Linked DNA regions of Homo sapiens: all the other regions are linked to region 2. Evidence: promoter capture Hi-C in human tissues and cell types (Jung and others, 2019). All regions are on one chromosome and are shown on one strand. The core of a region is centred on a gene start or on the middle of the fragment in contact, and the rest is flanking DNA. Distances in the headings are between cores, read along the strand shown.

What was found. Contacts are between HindIII fragments. The study calls those that stand out against the background at their distance.
Region 1: a contact is called between a fragment that was not itself captured here and the fragment with the promoter of EMX2 in region 2, in 1 of the 25 tissues and cell types used here (H1 embryonic stem cells).
Region 3: a contact is called between a fragment that was not itself captured here and the fragment with the promoter of EMX2 in region 2, in 1 of the 25 tissues and cell types used here (H1 embryonic stem cells).
Region 4: a contact is called between a fragment that was not itself captured here and the fragment with the promoter of EMX2 in region 2, in 2 of the 25 tissues and cell types used here (H1 embryonic stem cells and mesendoderm cells).
Region 5: a contact is called between a fragment that was not itself captured here and the fragment with the promoter of EMX2 in region 2, in 2 of the 25 tissues and cell types used here (lymphoblastoid cells and small bowel).
Region 6: a fragment that was not itself captured here is called in contact with the fragment with the promoter of EMX2 in region 2 in 1 of the 25 tissues and cell types used here (dorsolateral prefrontal cortex).

The regions. Positions count from the first base shown.
Region 1 is chr10:118,032,128-118,035,630 of GRCh38, forward strand. All of the region lies in intron 3 of RAB11FIP2 (RAB11 family interacting protein 2), which reads right to left. Among named protein-coding and RNA genes, the nearest start is that of CASC2, 13 kb to the right of the region's middle. RefSeq lists a silencer at 3,500-3,503. The HindIII fragment of the contact is 3,555 bases long and covers 1-3,451 here.
Region 2 is chr10:117,540,798-117,544,362 of GRCh38, forward strand. It overlaps EMX2 (empty spiracles homeobox 2), which reads left to right and starts at 1,949. Exons shown (of 3, transcript NM_004098.4): 1 at 1,949-2,876. The coding sequence starts at 2,471. It also overlaps EMX2OS. RefSeq lists an enhancer at 3,164-3,565. The HindIII fragment of the contact is 12,526 bases long and covers 1-3,565 here.
Region 3 is chr10:117,162,075-117,165,663 of GRCh38, forward strand. All of the region lies in intron 1 of MIR3663HG (MIR3663 host gene), which reads right to left. Among named protein-coding and RNA genes, the nearest start is that of MIR3663, 3.9 kb to the right of the region's middle. RefSeq lists an enhancer at 3,519-3,589. The HindIII fragment of the contact is 6,183 bases long and covers 1-3,589 here.
Region 4 is chr10:117,959,716-117,963,022 of GRCh38, forward strand. No RefSeq gene overlaps it. Among named protein-coding and RNA genes, the nearest start is that of CASC2, 85 kb to the right of the region's middle. The HindIII fragment of the contact is 7,704 bases long and covers 1-3,307 here.
Region 5 is chr10:117,845,460-117,848,860 of GRCh38, forward strand. No RefSeq gene overlaps it. Among named protein-coding and RNA genes, the nearest start is that of LINC02674, 110 kb to the left of the region's middle. The HindIII fragment of the contact is 8,189 bases long and covers 1-3,401 here.
Region 6 is chr10:118,005,827-118,009,497 of GRCh38, forward strand. RAB11FIP2 (RAB11 family interacting protein 2) reads right to left here. Exons shown (of 5, transcript NM_014904.3): 5 at 1-3,399. The coding sequence ends at 3,172. Among named protein-coding and RNA genes, the nearest start is that of CASC2, 39 kb to the right of the region's middle. The HindIII fragment of the contact is 8,693 bases long and covers 1-3,671 here.

The DNA of each region.
Region 1 (3,503 bases), core at 424-2,923, 490 kb after region 2:
ATTCCCTTCAGTAGGTGGAGTTCTGTGGTCCTGAAATTTTTCAAGGAACTTACACCTCCTTCAAAGAATACACATCATGGAATTTCTCCTCAATTTACCATGGGTAGCATACAAATAGAAGCATATTTTTAAGCGTCATTCATCACTATTGACTCTCAGGTTTTACCTCAATCCTGAGAAACAATTCATTCATAGATGCCATAAATATTTAATAGACTTTTCTGCCTGGTCTTCAATGCTCACTATAATTTAGGGTGTGTGTGTGTGCATTAGGTGCGTGCGTGCGTGTGTGTGTGTTTAACCTATTCAGCCATATCTTTTACTCCTTTCCACCATATCTCTGTTTTAGCCAAGCTAACTTCCTTACTATACCCTCTACCTTAGTTAGGGACCTGCAAGCAGAGCTAATATGACTAAGTTGTCTAATTTAAGTACGCATTTGCCAGCACAATTCCTGATCTCCATTCACAGTGAATACTTACTGAAAGCTTAGGAAATAAAGTAGTCCCATCCCCTTATCTGTGGTTTTGCTTTCCACAGTTTCAGTTAACCACCATAGTCCAAAAATATTAAATGGAAAATTCCAGAAATAATTCCTAAGTTTTAATTTGCGTGTCCTTCTGAGTAGCCTCATGACATGGTAGGCCATCCGATTCTGTACTGCCTGGGATGTGAATCATCCCTTTGTTCAGTCCCTTTGTTCAGTGTACCCACACTGTCTACACTGCCTGCCCATTAGTTACTTAGTAGCCATCTCGGCTATCAGGTCGCCTATTGCAGTATTACAGTGCTTGTGTTTGAGTAGCCCTTATTTTACTTAATAATGGCCCCAATGTGCAAGAGGAGTGATGCTGGCATATTGTTGTAATTGTTCTATTTCATTATTATTGTTACTCTCTTACTGTGCCTAATTTATGAATTAAACTTTATCATAGGTATATATGTATAGAAAAAAAAACACAGGATATATAGGGTTCGGAACTGTGCCTGGTTTCAGGAATCCACTGGGGGTCTTGGAATGTATCCCCATAGAGTAGGAGGACCACTGTAGGTGATATAATATAGATTAGCAATTTTTAAACCCGATAGTCAATGGGAAGTTATTAAAATGTTGATTTTCATTTCAGGGCCTACTCACTAAAGATTCTAATTCAGTCAGAGGGGAGGCCCAACAAATTGTAGCTAAAAAAAAATAATCTCCAGGAGCCCTTGATGATCAGCACTGAGGTCATGCACAAATCTAGGTGCTGTGGTGCACCCAAGAAAGAGGATTCTGCACAACTGTTATGAAGCTTACACAGCTTAATATAAGACCTAGTACAATAAACATTGTATAGTAATTACTTCTTCTATATCAGCAGAAATCCAAAGGGAAACACGAGGTTATTACTCAAAAAAGAACACTCAGAGATGAGTTGAGAGTGCACCCCACAATTGAGCCCGGGAATGAAGACGGCATGGCTTACAAGGACCTCAGTGTAGAGACATGGCAGTAAGGAAATTAACTTACCTAGAACAGGTTGGTGAGGAACAGTAAAAGAAAACTTGGAAGGTTAAGAAAAGCCTAAAATACAACAAGCCTTAGAACGTTAGAAAGAGGAGTTTGGATTTGGTGTTGCAAACCAGTAGTTCTTAAACTTTTTTGACTAGGGCTTTCTTAAACACAACGAAAGGTACTACAGCCCATGTGCCCTCCTCAGTAGGATAAATAATGCTAAGTGCTCTAATAAATATATATATAAATCTCAGTAACTTATATCCTGTGAATTTATCATTTGGACAAGGGCCACTTGGCTATTCCTCGTCAGGTGGGCCTTCCACTTGCATGCAGAGACCCAGGCTGCTCCTACTTACAGCTCTGCCCATCTCAAAGATCCTCTCCATTCAGCTACTGCAGGGGTCAGCAAAGTATTTCTGTAAAGCCCAAACAATAAATAGTTTTAGCTTTGTGGGCCATATGGTCTCTGTCACAACTACTCAACGCTACCACCGTACACAATTATGACGATAATGCGGCTGTGTTCGAACAAAACTTTACAAAAACTGGCAGCAAGCCAGATTTGGCCTCCAAGCTTAGTTTGCCAATCCCTGGTCCAGGATATGGAGGAAGAGGCAAAACGGAGGATTGTGTTAAGAGTGTTAAGAGGACATTCCATGGGCCAGACCTGAAAGTGGTATACATCTCTTCCATGAACTCTTAAATAAGCCAGAACTTGCTATGTCCTAGTTAAAAAAAAAAAAGAAATGAAATGAACAAATTTGGCTTGGTGAAGACACACACCCATCATTTCCACTTTTAAGTGAAAAACAGCCTGGTGGTAACATTATTTACAATTTATTATTTGTGATTTTATAATATATTAAAAGATAATTTGTTGTGAACAAATTAAAAATGGTATAACAAACATTCAGGCATATTTGTTTTTGGCAAATGATATACTGCTGATAAAAAGAAGGATTACTTCGCAAATTGTGTGATAAACCAAATGATAAATTAGTTGACAATTTATTTGATAAAGCATGAAAAAAATTAGTTGATACTGATGATGCTAAACAACCTGTGACTTACAATTAAAAAACAAGACTAGTGGCAATTATAAAATACAAACAACTTAGTACCAGTAATAAACTGAGAAAACATTCTCCTGAAGATTACAAGAACTCCAACACTACTTACTGTATATGTGTCATAGGAGTTTTGCAGCATGCCAGCATTGGACAGCATCCCGACTTCTTAGTAGCAAGCTGATTAGGCATCAATGGCACACACAATATTGTAAGCTCACTAAACCCAATTCAGCTTCCTTCTGCGTATACAGCTAAGTCACAGTTCTTCACAGGTTGCAGTGAGGCTGGGGCACGGGTGAGCTCTGGCCAATGGGACATATGTGGAAGTAATGCATACTGCACTAGGCCTGGCACACAGAAATGACCCTCCTTTGATCCTCTCTCTCCTCCTGCGCTGCACTGATCTTGGAGGCCATGTGTTAAATGGTGGCATCACAAGAAGGAAGAAGCCTGCTTCCTGAGAGACTGTGCAGAGCTGGATGAATGCATAGAGCAAAGCACTCACTTTTCCTATCACCATTCCAGTGAACTCCTTTGTGACAAGAGTGAGCAATAAACTTTTGCTGTGATAAGCCACTGATACCGTGGTTATTACAGCTGACAACCTACCCTAATACACAGTTCTTAATAGTCTCCAGAAATGTGCTATTTAGATTGAATATTAAATTTTAGTAATCCTTTAAAACTTAGATTTTTAACAATGTTTAGTTGTACATAAAAATGCATACATACGGCTTTATGGATCTGTTTTCAGTCTATTAGAAAGATCTTCACAGCCCACGCAAGCAGGGCTGGAAGTAGGAGGCTAACGGAATGAGAGTAGCATTTCAGGAAACTGCTATACTGTGTGCATTAGGAAACTGGTTTGCTACACTGTGTGCATTAAGAAACTGGTCTGCTATACTGTGTGCGTTTATTCAAAATATCTAATACCT
Region 2 (3,565 bases), core at 699-3,198:
CTGTGAAGATGTGTATGTGTGTTCCCTGGGAAGGTGTGGGGTGGGGGCAACAAAGATGATCTCTGCCAGTTCCTCACGAATCTGTCTGGTGCCCTGACAACCCCGGAAAACACTGCTCCCAACTCCTCTCTTGCCTGGTTTCCCAAAAGAGGTTTTTGGACACTTGCCCCAACACAACATTATATCTGGAATAAAGGAGTAATTGACACAAACATAAATATACACCAGATGAAACCAAGGGAGGAAGCAGGTAGCTCGTCCTGAGACCTGTCCCCTCAACTATGCATCTGGTGGCAGTGCAGCCTGGCTCACGGTGGACTTCACTCTTCTCCTCCCATTGCCATCGGCTTCCCAGGTTTCACGGCAACCTAGTCACCAAACACAGGCAATTCTGCGTTCTTAGGAGAAATGACAGGGGCCTGGGAGTAATAGTTTTAAACGACGCTAGAATTTTTTTTTATCATTAATTGTAAACGTGCAAAATACCTGCTGGTACTTCACTTTAGAAGAATGTAATTGGCAAAAGGAAAAAAAGGAAAAAAGAGGCGGCTGATGAATAGATAATAGATCTTTAACCACCAATAAACAGAGAGCAGCGCCAGCAGCCTGGGGATGTGATCATAATTATGCCGCCGCGCGAGCCAATGGGGACGAGGGAACTCGGTCCTAAAATCATCCCAAAACCGAAGGCGAGCTCGAAAATGCGGACACGGCCCGGGACCGGAGATGCGATCCGTAGTCGTTAGTTGCACTGGGTTTGCACAGCAACCACCACCCCCCCACCAACCCCGGGACAACAGATGGCATAATAATAATAATAGAAATAATAATAATAAAATAATATCATCTATAATAATAATAACATTGACCACACTGACAAAAATAATTACGACGGAACCTTAATAGTACAGTAGCACCATATCGGGCTCTCCCCTGACCTTGGACTGCCGGTCCCAGATATTCCAGAAGGAATTGTTTTGGGGAAGGAGGTGAGCACCCTCCCAGACAGAAAACGCTAGAGACCGTGGGGCGAGAGAGGGAGAGAGTTGGAAGCCCACTGCTCCGGCGGGGTCGGCAGCTCCCGGTCTCAACTCGCAAACGAACGAGCCGGGTCAAGAATCGCGAACGCACCGACCCTGGGACCTCGAGGCTAAGCGTGGTTGATGGGGTGGGAGGACCCCGTACCCCTCACTCCAGGATCCCTCCTGGCCTAGGAAACCGCTGGGAGTTTTGCTAAGTGTGGGGATTGGTATAACCGAACGGCGCCTTTAGCCCGGGAACCAGCCCCTGCCCGCTTACCCTCGCGGTGCTCTTGGGGCGATCCCAGTTCTCCCGACGCGGGGCCGCGTAAGGCAGCAGCGGCGGAGCGCTAGGCTAGAGGAATCTGTCTGTCCTTCTGTCCTACCAGCTTGGGCGAGGCAGGCTCGGGATTCAGGGGGCCGCAGCGGAGGCGGCGCCGGCCAGGGACTCTGCAGGGACCGGGGTGCCCCGGAGGGAGTGGTGCTGGTGGAGGAGGAGGCGGTGGCTGAGGGGGAGTAGGTGGGGAAAGAGGAGGAGGAAGAAGAGGAGGAGGAGGAAGAAGAGGAGGAGGAGGAGAAGAAGAAACTGGAGGAAGAGGAGGAGGCGAAGGAGGAGGAGAAGCCGCAGCGGGCGCCGCAGGAGCGAGTGAGCTGGGAGCGAGGGGCGAAGGCGCGGAGAAGCCCGGCCGCCCGGTGGGCGGCAGAAGGCTCAGCCGAGGCGGCGGCGCCGACTCCGTTCCACTCTCGGCCCGGATCCAGGCCTCCGGGTTCCCAGGCGCTCACCTCCCTCTGACGCACTTTAAAGAGTCTCCCCCCTTCCACCTCAGGGCGAGTAATAGCGACCAATCATCAAGCCATTTACCAGGCTTCGGAGGAAGCTGTTTATGTGATCCCCGCACTAATTAGGCTCATGAACTAACAAATCGTTTGCACAACTTGTGAAGAAGCGAACACTTCCATGGATTGTCCTTGGACTTAGGGCGCCCTGCCCGCCTTTTGCAGAGGAGAAAAAACTTTTTTTTTTTTTTGCCTCCCCCGAGAACTTTCCCCCCTTCTCCTCCCTGCCTCTAACTCCGATCCCCCCACGCCATCTCGCCAAAAAAAAAAAAAAAAAAAAAAAAGAAAAAAAAAGAAAAAAAAAGAAAAAAAATTACCCCAATCCACGCCTGCAAATTCTTCTGGAAGGATTTTCCCCCCTCTCTTCAGGTTGGGCGCGTTTGGTGCAAGATTCTCGGGATCCTCGGCTTTGCCTCTCCCTCTCCCTCCCCCCTCCTTTCCTTTTTCCTTTCCTTTCCTTTCTTTCTTCCTTTCCTTCCCCCCACCCCCACCCCCACCCCAAACAAACGAGTCCCCAATTCTCGTCCGTCCTCGCCGCGGGCAGCGGGCGGCGGAGGCAGCGTGCGGCGGTCGCCAGGAGCTGGGAGCCCAGGGCGCCCGCTCCTCGGCGCAGCATGTTCCAGCCGGCGCCCAAGCGCTGCTTCACCATCGAGTCGCTGGTGGCCAAGGACAGTCCCCTGCCCGCCTCGCGCTCCGAGGACCCCATCCGTCCCGCGGCACTCAGCTACGCTAACTCCAGCCCCATAAATCCGTTCCTCAACGGCTTCCACTCGGCCGCCGCCGCCGCCGCCGGTAGGGGCGTCTACTCCAACCCGGACTTGGTGTTCGCCGAGGCGGTCTCGCACCCGCCCAACCCCGCCGTGCCAGTGCACCCGGTGCCGCCGCCGCACGCCCTGGCCGCCCACCCCCTACCCTCCTCGCACTCGCCACACCCCCTATTCGCCTCGCAGCAGCGGGATCCGTCCACCTTCTACCCCTGGCTCATCCACCGCTACCGATATCTGGGTCATCGCTTCCAAGGTACGTGCCACGTCGCGGAACTGCAGCGCGCCGCTCCCGCCGCATCCTTCACTGCCCCCGGCCTGCTCCGGGTGGGCGCTTGGCAAGGCCTGGGCGGAGGTTCCTCCGGCTCGCGGGCCAGCGCGCCCTGTTGGGAAACTAGGCGGCGCGGGGCCGGGCGTGGTGTCGATCCCCAGTCTCCGAAGCTACGACTGGTTTGGAGTGATGGCCTGCGGGCCGCTTGACCCTTTGGGAAGGGGTGCGAACGGAGAAGTTGTCCCCCAGTGCGCTCGAATCAGAGCAGGCTGGGCTGTGCGTGCCCGGCGCCGCGGAGCCCAGAGCCCGCGGGATCCCCAGGCTCCTGGTACCCTCGGCAATGCCCCCAACCGTCCTGGCTCCGAGGGGCGCGGACAGGACTCGGCCGCCAGGCTTGCTTTCGACTGCGTTCGACCCTGTTCACCACCCACTTTGCGCCCCTTCAGTCCAGACCCGCGGCTTCTTAGTCTTCCACCCTCTTCTGGAGGCGAGAGGATCCTCGCGCCCCGGGAGAAAAGTATGGGATTTGTTTTTTCTTTCCTGCTTTTCGGAGGCCTGGGGAGGGGCGGGAACCCGTGCGGGAGGAAAGCTCCAGGGCTTGGCGCTCTCGCCGCGACCTGCTTAATTGGGGCGCCGAGCAGCCACAGCGGGAAGGCAGGTTCGGTCTGGTTTTT
Region 3 (3,589 bases), core at 530-3,029, 380 kb before region 2:
AATTTATGATAACTGTAGCCTTCCAATGACTAGGGCTACACTGAACTTTCCAAGCCGAAACATTCATCCTTGTATTCAGGAAAAGTCCTCTCAACAATTTGGAAAAATATTAAAAATATGAAAGCAATTGAAAAATCACTTTCACCTGTGCAATATCCTTCTTTCATGAATGTCTCCAATTACATAGCTAGGGTTACAGATTTTCACAAACACAGTTTCATTTTTGATAGTTATGTAGCTGTAATTTCAGGCCATTTCACTCTATTGAAAGGTACGGGGGCTGCCTTTGCCCTCTCTTCCTCCTGTCGCTTAAACCATCCAAGAAAACATCAAGAAATTAAATAAGAAGGGAAAACAAGAGGTAGAGATCGTATTCAAAAGACTGGAGTCCACCACATGAGAAGAATCAAGTTTGTAACCGCTGGGGTTACCTCCCTGCTCTGTCTTCCATCTGGGCAATGGGCTAACATCCCCGGGCTGGGGGTGTCTGAGGAGGATGAAGACATCCTCAGCGCTGCAGAGGTGCTAAGAAAACAGCCAGCTGTCTCCTGACTTAGAATTTTTGAAAGCTTTCGGGCCTCTCTGAGAAAGCCGTTCCAAATCCACCCCGTATCAATTTGCCTTCTAGAAGCGGCAGGATAAGCACACGGGTTTGGGCAGTGCTCACATTTTGGGTTTATTGGCTTGATGGGGTTGTTTGGGGCGCTCTCAGTTACAAACTGCAGAAGAGTGGGGGCGGGGGACAGGATGGGGAGGAAAGGGTGGGCGAAGGAGCCGAGAGTAAGACAAGCCGAAGGGTGGAAACTGCGGGAGGGAGAGGAAACGCCGAAGGCGATGTAGAGTCCTGCGAGGGACCGGGAGAGGTAGGGAGGGATCCGAGCCGCAGTCCTGAGGGAGAGCGACCGCGCGCCCCGCAGCCGAGCTGGGTCCCTTCGCCCCGCCCGGAATCCCGGCCCCCGCCCGCCCCACGCAAGTCCCCGTGCCCCCTCCGGGAGGTGGGAGTCGCCGGGACTCTGCGCTCCGCCAGCCTCCGTCTGCTGGCCGGGTCCGGGATCCGCACCCGGAGAGGCTGAACCGAGGCTGAACCGAGGCGGACGCAGCCCCGGGTCGGTGGCTCGCCTGGCCGGGTGGGGTGGGAGCGATTTTCTGGCGGTGGCGTTTGCAGGAGGGGAGGAGACAGCGCCACCCAGGGCCTCCCCGAGCACTGCCGGCCAGGCCGGGCTCGGGGGCCGGAGTGAGGGTGCAGGTGGGGCTCCGGGTTCTGCTTCTTGAAGGCGGCGGCGGGGCGAGAAATGCAACCGCGTGGGCCCCGCCTGCTCCCCCCGGTCCTGTCTTTCCTCGACGCTCGGGAGGCGTCCCGCAGCCCCCTAGTCGCGATGCTCTCAGGTCCCCGGCGTGGACCAGCACGTGGGCCCGGGAGTCGAGTGGGGACGAAGGCATGTTGGCCGCCTCAACTTCCTGCGCCGACGGCTGGGGACGCGGAGAACCCTCTCCGAGCTGGGGTCCCCGCCTGCTGGGCAACCTCACCTCAACGTCTGGCCTGGCCTGGGGCCGCTTGGACTCGGCAGCGGCTGCACTCCTACAGAGCCCAGACGCGCCTTCTCGCTTTTTCCTTTCTGGGCCGGGGCCCTAAACTCCCGGAACTCGCCGCAAGAGGAGCGTTGAAAACAAAAGGGACAGCCCAAGCTGTCCCGCCCGCTGCGCCCGAGGAGCATCCCCTTGGCGCTGCAGGCTGTCGCCTCCCCCAGCACCTGGCGGGGCGGGTGCCAGGCTGGGCCTCTAGACGGTTTCACCGCTGCTTATCATTTCTCCTTCATTTTGCAGGGGCAGGGGAGCTGCCCCTCCCTTCGGAGAAAGGCCGCGCCTGCACCCAAAGGTAACCCTCGGGTGACCCCGGGAGCGGGGCTGTCTGGCCTTGGTGCGAGACCCCGGGCGGGGGGTCAGAGGTTTCTGTTGCATCAGAGAAACACGGCAGCGTCAAAAAGAAAAAGCTTCCAGTGGGTCTGGGCCTAAAGCTATTTTTATTTAAGTCTCAAATTGTCTAGTTTGCCATTTTGCTTCTATTTTTTAAAAAATTATTTCTCAGTGGCATGGGGGAGGGGAGATCAAAGGTGACGGATGGGTATCTCTATGTTGGTGTCAAGTATGCCTTCATGTCTGTCGTTTCTTCAGCAGTTGTCCCAGTACCGTCCACATAAAGTATCTTCTTCCAAGGACCCGTTGCAATAAAACGGGATATTTCTATTTGGACCGTTCTATGTCAAAGAAGGTTGGCAGCAGCGCCAGGCTTACCCATGATTAAAGGGGGACATTTCCTACAATAAGGTAGAGTCAATGCAGAACCCACAAGCTCATTGATTTCCATCCCTGTGTCGTCAGCTTGTTCACTTTCTCCTAAGATTATGACAATAGTAGTAATAATAATAACCAGGACACAAATAACTCTTGAGAGGTCACTTGTAACTACCTCTTCTTGGAGGTGAGAAACACACACATGCATACACACATACACCCCTGTGGACTTATGGTTTATTTTTGTCAGAGGAACTTAGAATTGCCTGAGGTGGTGTGTGTGTGTGTGTGTGTTTTTTTTTTTTAATGATTTATTTACAGACTTGCTAATGCCTCCGCAGAAATCCTGTTTATCAGCCCAATAGTTGTGACAGGGTTAGAAAACCAGTTTAAACTGTTAATCGGCCAGAAAAAGGGCCCTAGATTGATGCCTTTCACTTACCTTTGAAAGGCTATAAAAGCAACGCCATACATTGGGATGAAATTAGACAGCGACAAAATCATTACCTTGACTTCCCACAATAAAGACAACCTTAAAAGGGGGCTATTGATGGTTTCAAATTACATAACGGTGGTTTATATGTTCTTCCTCTGCGCTCACAGAAAGCAATTTTAAAGTGTGAATTCTTCAAAGAACGGGCAAAGCATTCACACACAGACATGCGTTTTTATTTTATGTATTGCAAAGCGCTATGAGAGAGAGAGAGAGAAACCAAAAACAAAAATCCCAGCAAAAGGAGGCCGAGTCCAAAGAGAATATGTCCGGTTTCTATTTCACCAAGCTCCTGGACTCACATTTGGCCCCGGAGCCGAGTGCTCGGTCTCTTTCCCCGGGACGGGACAGGGAGTGGAGTTCCTAGCCCCTTGGGTGGGAAAAGCCCCGCGCACGTCACCGGGTCCCGTCTGCTCACTGCTTCTGCATATTTTAAGCCTGGACACAGCCTCCTTTAGGATAGAAAGGCATTTCCCAAACAACACCGATTCTGGGGGTGTAGTGGGCCTGGCGCTGGGTCCTGGAGAGAAGGTTCAGCCCCCCTTCTCATCCCTGTACTTTGGGGATGGCTCGTACTTGGACAGGGGTGGGCCTCCGCCTTCTCCGCCTTCTATCGGACCTTTCTTCGGATGGATTTCTACGTAAACTCGGAAGGCGATCAAATGCAGGCGGCCAACCTCCAGCGCTTTTTTTTTTCCTCTCAAAGGCGGCGCCTGCATTTTTGGGGGCTCCAGCCCAGGCTGAGAAAGTCCCCTCAAACCTCTACTCTGAGGTTGCTCACACGGCCTGCAAAAACCCGACGGG
Region 4 (3,307 bases), core at 328-2,827, 420 kb after region 2:
ATTTCAAAATAAAAACTTATATTAGAAACAGCACATAAGTGCATATAAAATTACAATTCTGTTAAGTGCTACAGGGAGAGCTATATGATGCTATGGAAGCCTCTGATGCAGGGATTGACCTGGTGATGCAGGTCAGGGAAGGCTTGAAAATGAACTGAGATCTAAGGAAAGGATAGAGGTTAATGAGGTGAAAAGGGCAGGGAGGTTGAATCCAATTCTCTTGACTTAGGAAGAGTTCAATAAGGTAGAAAAATAGTTCTTTCCATGAACCTCCAAAGCTGAAACACACAACAGTGCAGATGAGCAGTGAAGGCTTCATCTATGGTGGGTAAAAAAGAAGGGTTCAGGGACCTAGGAAACCCGTCAGCTACTGGGCAAATTAGAAGGGTAGGGAGAAGGGAAGCAAGATAGCTAAGAGAGAGGGTGGGGTGAACCCCAACAAGTCAAGTCAGGAGCCCTCTAAAATCACTGCAGGGCTTATTGGTGTATGCTAACCTCTAAATCCCCAACCATGGTGAGGGAATTCCCCATCCACAGGTGTTTCGGTCTAAACTCACTTTACCTGACAGGTACAGGGGAGCTGTGGGGAGCAGCCTGTGAGCTGCTTCTGACTCAGTAGAGTGTTAGGGAAGAAAGAAGAGCAGAAGTCAGACACCTTCCCTCCTTCATATATATCCCTTCCCTTCTCACAGCCATTTCCCTGAGCCTAGCCTTCCACCAGGGAGCTTCAGGAGCTGAATGAGACCCACGCTTTGGTTCTCCCATCCAGCAAGTTACACCACCTCTTTGGGCAACAGTCTACCCCTCCATAAAGCAAATCTAGACCAAATGACCTCACAGCTGACTCAATCCTTGGGTTTGTTGATTCTGGCTTCTGGCTTTTTGATCTGCATTCAAATTGCTCTTTCATTTTTGTCTGCAGTCATCTGTATGAGTACCTAGAGAAAGACTGGGGGAAACAGTCATGACTACGTTACAAGCTTCTTTTTAAAGTCATCCATTTGTTGTGAGAGAGTTCAACGGTTATCTAGAAGCTAGGTACAAAGTACAGTCTGCATTTATGAATCCCTGGAAATAATCTTGTTAGGTCAAGTACAAAGAATTATTTTACTCGCTAAGTTCCAATGAAAAGGAGAAATTGGATATACCATTATATAGACTTCTAAACTAAGAGAGAATTTAAATTTTCTCTTAATAGTGATTTGACTCAGCTAATATTTATACATTTAATAAAAGTTTCAACATTTTAGTTAAAATGCTATTTTTACAGTAGTCTTCTGCTCAGAGAGATTTAAATTATATTCATTAGTAGTGTCATGTTCAATGACTGAAGCCATAACATCAGAGTGAACCCAATTGACGGGCAGAAATATATTTGCTTAACAAAAAAAGAGCAAAAGAGACAAAGGCAGACATGAATAGGAAGGGTTTTTTTTTTTTTTTTTTTTTTTTTTTTTTTTTTTGGAAGGCTGACAGTTCTTCCCTCCAAGCAAATTATTACTTATCTATCCACCCAGCCTGATAAAAATAATCACAAATATTTTGAATGCCTGCATTGAAAGATGGATTTAGAACGTTCAGTGCTCACAGTGGCAGAATGGTTATGTATGGTTTCATTTGGACTCACAGCCGACCAAAATATGGGTGTTTAAGCCTGTGGAGCAGGAGCAACTAATTGATCCCACTTAGGAGACAGACTGTGAATAATGGGCCATTATATTTTGATGGAACACACAATTGCCTTGAACTTCTCAGAAGTTCAGGTGTGGGGATCCAGCTACCTGGGGCAGTTGCTGGAATGTGATGGTCTGCGGGCTTCTGATCATGCATCTGCCTGCTGCACCCCTCGTAGGGCCCAGCTCCATTTCACGGGAATAACTCACCTATTCATGAACAATGAGGTTCAAACTGTACCTTTCCTTAACACAACATTAACTCTCAAAGAGCTGGAAATTCAGCACTCGGTTTCGTGAGCTTAGATTGCAAATCAGTCACTGAGAACATTATATGAGCAGTAATCCCATTAAATATATCATCTTGCAAATATCTAAATCCAGTTAATTAACTTGTATTGCAAAAGAGCTTGGAGATATAGTTTTCAGAGAGCAACCATACATTTTAGGGCCCTAATTATACTTAAAGTAAATTTCAGGCTCTAGTTTTTATAAAAAATAGGTGGAAAACCGCCTTCTAAGGAAAAAATGGATTGATGGAGGGCTACGTTTATGAGATTTAAACAGAAAAGATATTTAAACATTTCAAAAATTAACTGCTTTCTTGCATAAACTTTTTACTTGCATTGTAGGGCGGTTTTTTAATAAAAGGATTAAACAAAGTCTGCTATTTTAATTAAAATTCATAGCAATACAATGTCATCTTTGCAATGGTCGTAGAAATTAACTAGCTCATGAATTTAGCCATTTCAGAGTTCATAATAATTTGACTTCAGCATAATATCCAAACCCACATGATATGTAGATTTTAAAATAATCACAGCAAGGATTTAAAAATAAAAATAATAATTTCACCTAGTGAAAATCCCATTACTGAGTTAGACATACATGACAACATTGGCTTAATAATTTCTCAGTGATCAATAAGTGTCTGGGATGCATACATAGCTCTATGTAGCCATATGTGTGTATGTTGCATGAAATTTGCATAAATTGAGTGCTCTGCATAAACTTTGCAGAAAACTCTGTAGGTGTACGTTTATGTGTGTCTTTCTGTCTTCCGATACCACTCACTCACTTCATGCTTGTTTTGAACTAGCCTCATACCACCCACCAAAAAAGTGGATCATCAGTGGTATTTGTCAGTAAAATAAACCCTCCCAATATATGCTTTGCATTATGTTTCATGAAAAATCCACACCCTTTAAGTGCAAAATTCAAGACTGACTTATTTTAAAATAGTTTAAATTGTGGTTTCTCTAGACTATTATTCAATGCTGACATAAAAAAACTAGCAATAAAGTATATGAATACCTTCAATATAAATAGTGCTTTTCTTCTAGATAGTTCAAATTTTCATCCTATGTGTAAATCCATTCATATGTATGAAGAACACATACAATAAAATCTTTTAAAATCTCAATGCCAATTGAAGACTGTGGCAGATAAAGTTTTTAAAAGATGTCAACAGGACTGGATTTATTCATGCTAAAATCCATGACCCCATTTGGGGCATCATTTGGGGCATCATGGTCCACTGTTCTGAAGAATAAAGTTTCAAAAATATTCACAGATTCTTTCTAACAATATCATTCTCTCTATCCAAATGTCACCAACACTGAATATACCATTTT
Region 5 (3,401 bases), core at 491-2,990, 300 kb after region 2:
ATGATGAGAGGAGAAGCACTTCATGCCCAGAATGTTGAGGGAGGATGTTTTCTGGTAATAGCCAGTTGATTTTACTTGCTAGCTGAACAGAGGAGAACAGAAACAATATTAATGACAATAATAAAACTAATAATGGGTAGCACTTACCGGGTGCTTACTATGTGCCAAGAACTGTTTTGAGTGTGTTACCTTTGTCTTCTCTTTGAGTTTCCACAGTCTTTCATGGGTGAGGAAATTGAGGTCTGGAGATGTCAAGTCACTTTCCAAGGCACACAAAGCTTAATCTTGGCAAGCTGGGATCAAAACATGCATTGTCCCAGGGCAGGGACAAACTCATTTTGGAAAAGTGCTTTAGGGCACAGGACCTGTTCACTTCATCATCTCAGTCATTGGCCAGGGAAACTTTCAAGTTCAAGCTTTTAAGTTCAAAGCTTGAAGCAATGAGGCTCTCGTTACTCCCTGCCTGAGGACAGAGCCCAGCACACCTACTTCTCGTGTGGGTAGCACTGAACATTCTCCAAACTCATAGTTTTCGAGCATTTCATCTGGAATTTATTTTTGCTTATGATGTGAGTTTTGAGATATAGCTTTCCATCCAGCCCTGATAGCCAGCCAGTTATTCCTGAATCATTTCATATATGAATGGTCCTCTTCACATGGAATTAAAATGCCACCTTTGTATGTATTTTGCTCCCATATAGACTGTAATCTATTTCTGAACCTATTTTGTTCTTGATCTATTACCTTTTTCTCTGTCAGTGGTGTATTAGATTATAGTGTAGTTCAGTATTGTGTGTATATATATTATATATATATATATAATATATATATGTGTGTGTGGGTATATATGCGTATACATAAAAAGTATAGTGAGTTGCATAATTTTGTAAGAGGACCTCCCAGATATTTTTCCCTTTTAAACTTCTCTTGCTGGTCATTCTCAGATAGGTATTACTACATATAAACTTTAAAATAGTTTCATGCACTCCCAACATCCACGAAACAAGCATTGGATGCTAATTTGAATTGCATTTCATTTCTAAGTTAATTTGAGGACTGATGTTTTATGGTATAAAGTTTTCCAATACCAGGAACATACTATGTCTATCCAATTTTGGGGGTCTTATTTTAAGATCTTCAATAAGATTTTATGGCTTTCTTTATATAAGTTCTATGCCTTTATTATTAAATTTATTCCTGGTTAATATAGTGAATAGGATTTTTTTAAAATTTCCATTTTATAACTGGTTTTGGCTAGTGTGGCAGGCACTGTTTTGCTGGCCCAAATTCCTACAACCTCCCTGCTTAAGTGTTCCCAGGTTTACATTCTCACTGAGGTGCCAGGGAATTAAGAGGTTCTAGGAGATTGTCAGGAGATGAGGAAAGAATCCCCCAGCTACCTCACCTCTCTCCTGGCTCATGCTTATGGACACAGGGGAAGTTTTCCCAAGGACCAGCTGATTGAGGAGGAAAAACTCAGTTTGGGGCTCACAGAGAAGTCAGCCCAAGATATCATGGCATGCTAAAATGAATGCTGTCACTCAGGGGATGGCCTGAAATTAATAAGGGCAGAAATTCAAGAAGCATACCTTGCCACAAACTTGGTGTGGAGGGAGAAGTGACCTGAAATAAGGATATACATAGACTCCAGGGAAGTGGCAAATGGTCTGCCTGGTTGGTCAAATATCTGACATGAACAAGATTAGAAAATCAGAAACAAAGAAGTCTTGGGAAGAAGAATGTGGATGGGCCAAGGGAGTAGGCACATAATGTGTAGATCTTTGTGACCCACATCAGTGCCCACCAGGGGGAATCCACCGCAGAGAAGGCGTGAAACATTAATGTGGCCAACAAACATATGAGAAAAAGCTCATTACCACTGGTCATTAGAGAAATGCAAATCAAAACCGCAATGAGATACCATCTCATACCAGTTAGAATGGCGATCATTAAAAAGTCAGGAAACAACAGGTGCTTGAGAGGATGTAGAGAAACAGGAATGCTTTTATACTGTTGGTGGGAGTGTAAATTAGTTCAACCATTGTGGAAGACAGTGTGGAGATTCCTCAAGGATCTAGAACCAGAAATACCACTTGACCCAGTGATCCCATTACTGGGTATACGCCCAAAGGATTATAAATCATTCTACTATAAAGACACATGCACATGTATGTTTATTGTAGCACTATTCACAATAGCAAAGACTTGGAACCAACCCAAATGCCCATCAATGATAGACTGGATTAAGAAAATGTGGCACATATACGCCATGGAATGCTATGCAGCCATAAAAAACGATGAGTTCATGTCCTTTGCAGAGACATGGATGAAGCTGGAAACCATCATTCTCAGCAAACTAACACAGGAACAGAAAACCAAACACCGCATGTTCTCACTCATAAGTGGGAATTGAACAATGAGAACACATGGACACAGGGAGGGGAACATCTCCCACCAGGGCCTGTCGGGGGGCAGGGGGCTAGGTGAGGGATAGCATTAGGAGAAATACCTAATGTAGATGATGGGTTGATGGGTGCAGCAAACCACCATGGCACATGTATACCTATGTAACAAACCTGCATGTTCTGCACATATATCTCACAACTTAAAGTGAAAGAAAGGAAGGGAAGGAAGGAAGGAAGGAAGGAAGGAAGAAAGAAAGAAAGAAAGAAAGAAAGAAAGAAAGAAAGAAAGAAAGAAAGAAAGAAAGAAAGAAAGAAAAAGAAAGAAAGAAAGAGGGAAGGAAGGAAGGGAAGGAAGGAAGGAAGGAGAAAGAAAGAAGGGAAAGAAAGAAAGAAAGGAAGGAAGGAGAAAGAAAGAAAGAAAGAGAGAAAGAAAGATGGAAAGAAAGAAAGGGAGCAAAGGGTACAAGGCAGGTGGTGGGATGGGGAAAACCGAGGTCAGTTAATTTGGATATTATAGGAAAAAATGCAAATCATATGCCAAACAGCATCCATTGTTTGGAGTCAAGAATTCAAGCACTATTTGAAAAAACATTGAGTTACTGCTTATACTATTTAACAAAACCCCCAATAACCAGAAGGTTTACCATATGGGGCATTTTTGTTGAAGAACTTGAGACAAATCTTTGGAAAATGTATTACTCACTTCTCTTACCTTAGAAATACAGGAAAACAAACATCACAGGCTCAGTCTCTGACAGTTGGAATAATGATCATGATAAGATTTTAAATGGTCTTGGTATAGAAAACAAGATTTGGTTTTTAGAAACATATTCTGATTTACAAAGGTGTTTTCTCCATTCGACCAGACTATTAAAAGTGGATATACTAGATTATAAATTGTTTTGTTTACCGATGTATTCCTAATGCCTCTCACAGGGTCTGATGTGGTGGGGGGGAGGGGACAAATAGATATTTGTTGAATGAATAAATGAACGA
Region 6 (3,671 bases), core at 9-2,508, 460 kb after region 2:
GTGAGGGAGTTGCTGGAGGAATAACAAGAAGAAAACAAGTCTGTCACTAATGAGCTTAGTTTTACTTAGGTTTCCATTCATGAAACCCTTTTAAATACAAGGCAACATTTTCACAGCTGGAAAATTACAACTAAATCTTGATTTACCACCAAAAGCAATAGATGTAGTTATGTATAATCTATAGATAATACTACATTCAGGGGACAATGGCAAAACTAGGCTCAATGCAGAACATAGCAGCAAAAAGCAATACTTAAAAACGTTTTTCATGAATGGGTTACATGTTGTTTTATATACAATTCTAAGATATGACCCTGGTATTCAATAAATGAAACTTGAAGCGTAAGTGGTAGGAAGGTATGTTCAATATTTTTAAAGCTGAATTTTAGAATTGGTTATAAAATAATACTGCTTTAAAAATAATAGCAGAAATAGTTTAATTATGTAACAGAAGTACATTAGCTTAAGATAGTCTTGAGATAAATATCAATTCTGTGATTTTAAAAAATCCTCTTGTTGGTAGTAGTGTTTTGGGCATGCATTCTTTAAAGCATAAAAGCAAAAATAAACTCTATAATCTAGTGTACTGTGCATTATTTAATAAGCACATATATTTTATTTCCATTTCTAAGCAACTAACAAAATACATTAGAATACCTAAAGTTATGTTTTGGAAAAATAAACTAAGGTGACCTTTTTGGCCTCTTTTTCTACAACGTGAGAAATTAAAACTACTTTGCACTTCTGCCCAAACACAGGAAACACTGATATATTTACTTGGGAACTAATTTTTACTTTTTGTTTTTAGTTTTATTATTTTGACTGATTATGAAAATATGCAATAAGTTTACTCTAGGTAATGAGTGAAAATTCACAAACATTAGAACAGCAAATTTTCAGGCAGTGATGAATGTATTAATAGATCTAGTTTTAAATATAATACTTGTCTCAGATTTAAAGATAAAAATTTTGATTGAGTTATAACCAAATCACTCATGTATGAATAAAGCTAAGCCTCAATAGCTTTTATATAGGAAAAGAATCGCTCCTTAAAAATCAATTTCCCCATAAAAAGAAGAGCAGTACTTGAACCATACTTTTAAATGAGTTCTATTTATGTAAAACATATCCCCAATACAAAACTGACATCTTGGTTCACTCTATAAACAGCAAATTTGGCCAAAGCATATTATTATAGTATCTGCAGATACTGTCATAATACTGAAAACATAGATTTTCACATTTTAAGAAGTGTATGAAAAGACTCAATAATACTACCAGACAAAAACAAATGCTGAGAATTTTGTAACATTTAGTTAATTAAAAGTGGCACCATGTTTAAAAAAAAAAAAAAAACTACCAAGACCTCAAACGGGAAAATACCATTCTACACCAGACTTTGAGGTTTATTACAGAATCTTGAGGAGAAAAAAATTGATAAAAGCTATTTTTCCTTCTCCATTTCTTAAAGCATTTAATTTTTATGAAAAAAATGTTCATAATTTCAAAATGTATGTTCTTACAGTAAAACTGAAATGCAGAAGATACAAATAACAAGGGGTTTTAGTTTACAAATACGAGCTTGGCCAAGTATTCTCTGATTCAAAATACTAAAATAAGCAAAAAAAAAAAACCCAAACTATTATATCGGCTTTTTGTTTAACTTTCAATGGAGTCTTAACAGAGATAAGTATTAGAAAAAAATGCAATTCATGGAAAGATTGGGGAATATGTAAGTCTCCATATGGACATGAATTTTCATTTTAAATTCAGAAAGACATAGATACTCTCAGTGTTTTATAGTATTTCAGACTTTAAAGGCTGAAAAATAAGCAGAAGATTAGCAATATTTTTATAACATTGCTTGTCAATTTAAATTTCAGAAAAAATTTGTACAAATCATATAAAAATAATCCATGGAAGAAATCAGTATTTTGGGGGAGTGGACTTTAAAATAGAACATAATTTTGTAATAAATCAATTCTTAAAGGGTGGATGTGGAGTAATGCATAATGTCACGCTCGTAAAGTTCTCTTCTAAAAACTCACTCTTCCTTTAGTAAGTCTTATTTTGGTTCAAGACCCAAAGGCAACCATCTGCTCTATTATTTATGTAACCTGAAACCAAGCCTAATTCTTCATTCCTGGAATCTGCCCGCTGCTTTGGGTTATCAGACACACCAGGCAATCACATACTTCCCACAATTATTTTCAGATATAACTTTATAATATTTGCTTTGCTAGTGATTTAAAGGCATGCAGAATTTCAACAAAACAAGCTATATTAGCTTATCTTCTGCTTATACCTTAAACAAACTCAAATGTTAATTAATTCAAATAAATTCATGCTGTTATGAAGTTAATGAAGTCTCCTAAAATTTGTCATTCTTTAAAAAAGGACTTGAGATCATCACTTTTGGGGAAAGAGAAAAACTTTGATGCTAGAATAATATATAGCAGCTCACTTTGAAACCAAGGTCCATGTAGTCAAGAGTGATTTGAAGCAGCTTCTCTATAACAAACCATGACAGTAGGAAGGATGACTTGTCTTGCATCAATAGAGCACACACATTTTCAAATCAAGAAATTGGTAGCCTAACTTTAGAGGCAATCAATTGTTTCTAAATGTTCTAAAAACACATGTATATATGAGGTATATGCCTATATTTTATATACAAGATACATGAATATATATATATTCATGTACATATGTGTATATAAAATATAAACTGTTTTTTTAGTAGTGTTTATAACGAGCAGTATTCCTGAAGCTAAATATTTCTACAAACTGATTTCTGAGAAACCAGCCACAGGATCAATTCTGCTTTATGAAAAATCTATTCCTGAGGAACAACTCACGTACTTCTGAAGATATTTCTGGGCCTATGGCAGATTAGTGGGTCAGTACCAGCACCTGAGTGAGTCCTAAGGAACCACTTATTCATTGAGAATCTGGCCCATTTTCAATTTAAACATTTAAATGATTTAGCTTGCTTCAAAGGTCACTCTTGATAGTCCCTGCTAATATTTACAGGTAAAACTACTCTTCACAATAAAGGAGAATATGTAATGAAACCTGATAGTGTAGTCTCTTTCAGTAACAAGTTTTTCCTTCCTTCCTTCTTTCTTTCTCTCTCTTTGTCCAATTATCAATACAATACAATTGGCTTTATTAACTGTTAGAGAATTTGCCAGCTTTCCTGGATGGTTCATACGGCACTCTGAGAATACTGGGCGTTTCTTCCATTACCCTTACAAGGAGGTTGTCGATGTAGTCCTCGAGTTCCCGGATGTGGGTGTCTTTCCTCCTAAGGAGTTCTTTGTGTTTCACCAGCTCCTGTAGAACCTCTTCATAGGTCAGACTACGATACCCTGCAGTGGCATCAAAGGGGTTGCTGTCCTAGAACAGGATAAAGACTGTCACTTTCATAGATATAACATCTGGGACAAACATTAAGAATTACCTGGAACTTCGACTTTTTGTTTTTCAAACCCTGATGAAGTTTTTCGCTAGCCTTGCTTAAAGTGAATGTGACAGTTCACAAATTGGCTAGCCAGTCCTGAGGCAAGAACTAGGGCAGATGCACCAAAGTTTTGACTATAACTCTAAATCCTAAAACCCTTTCTAACATTGTGGGCAATTTCCTAATATCTGAGACTGGTTATATCATG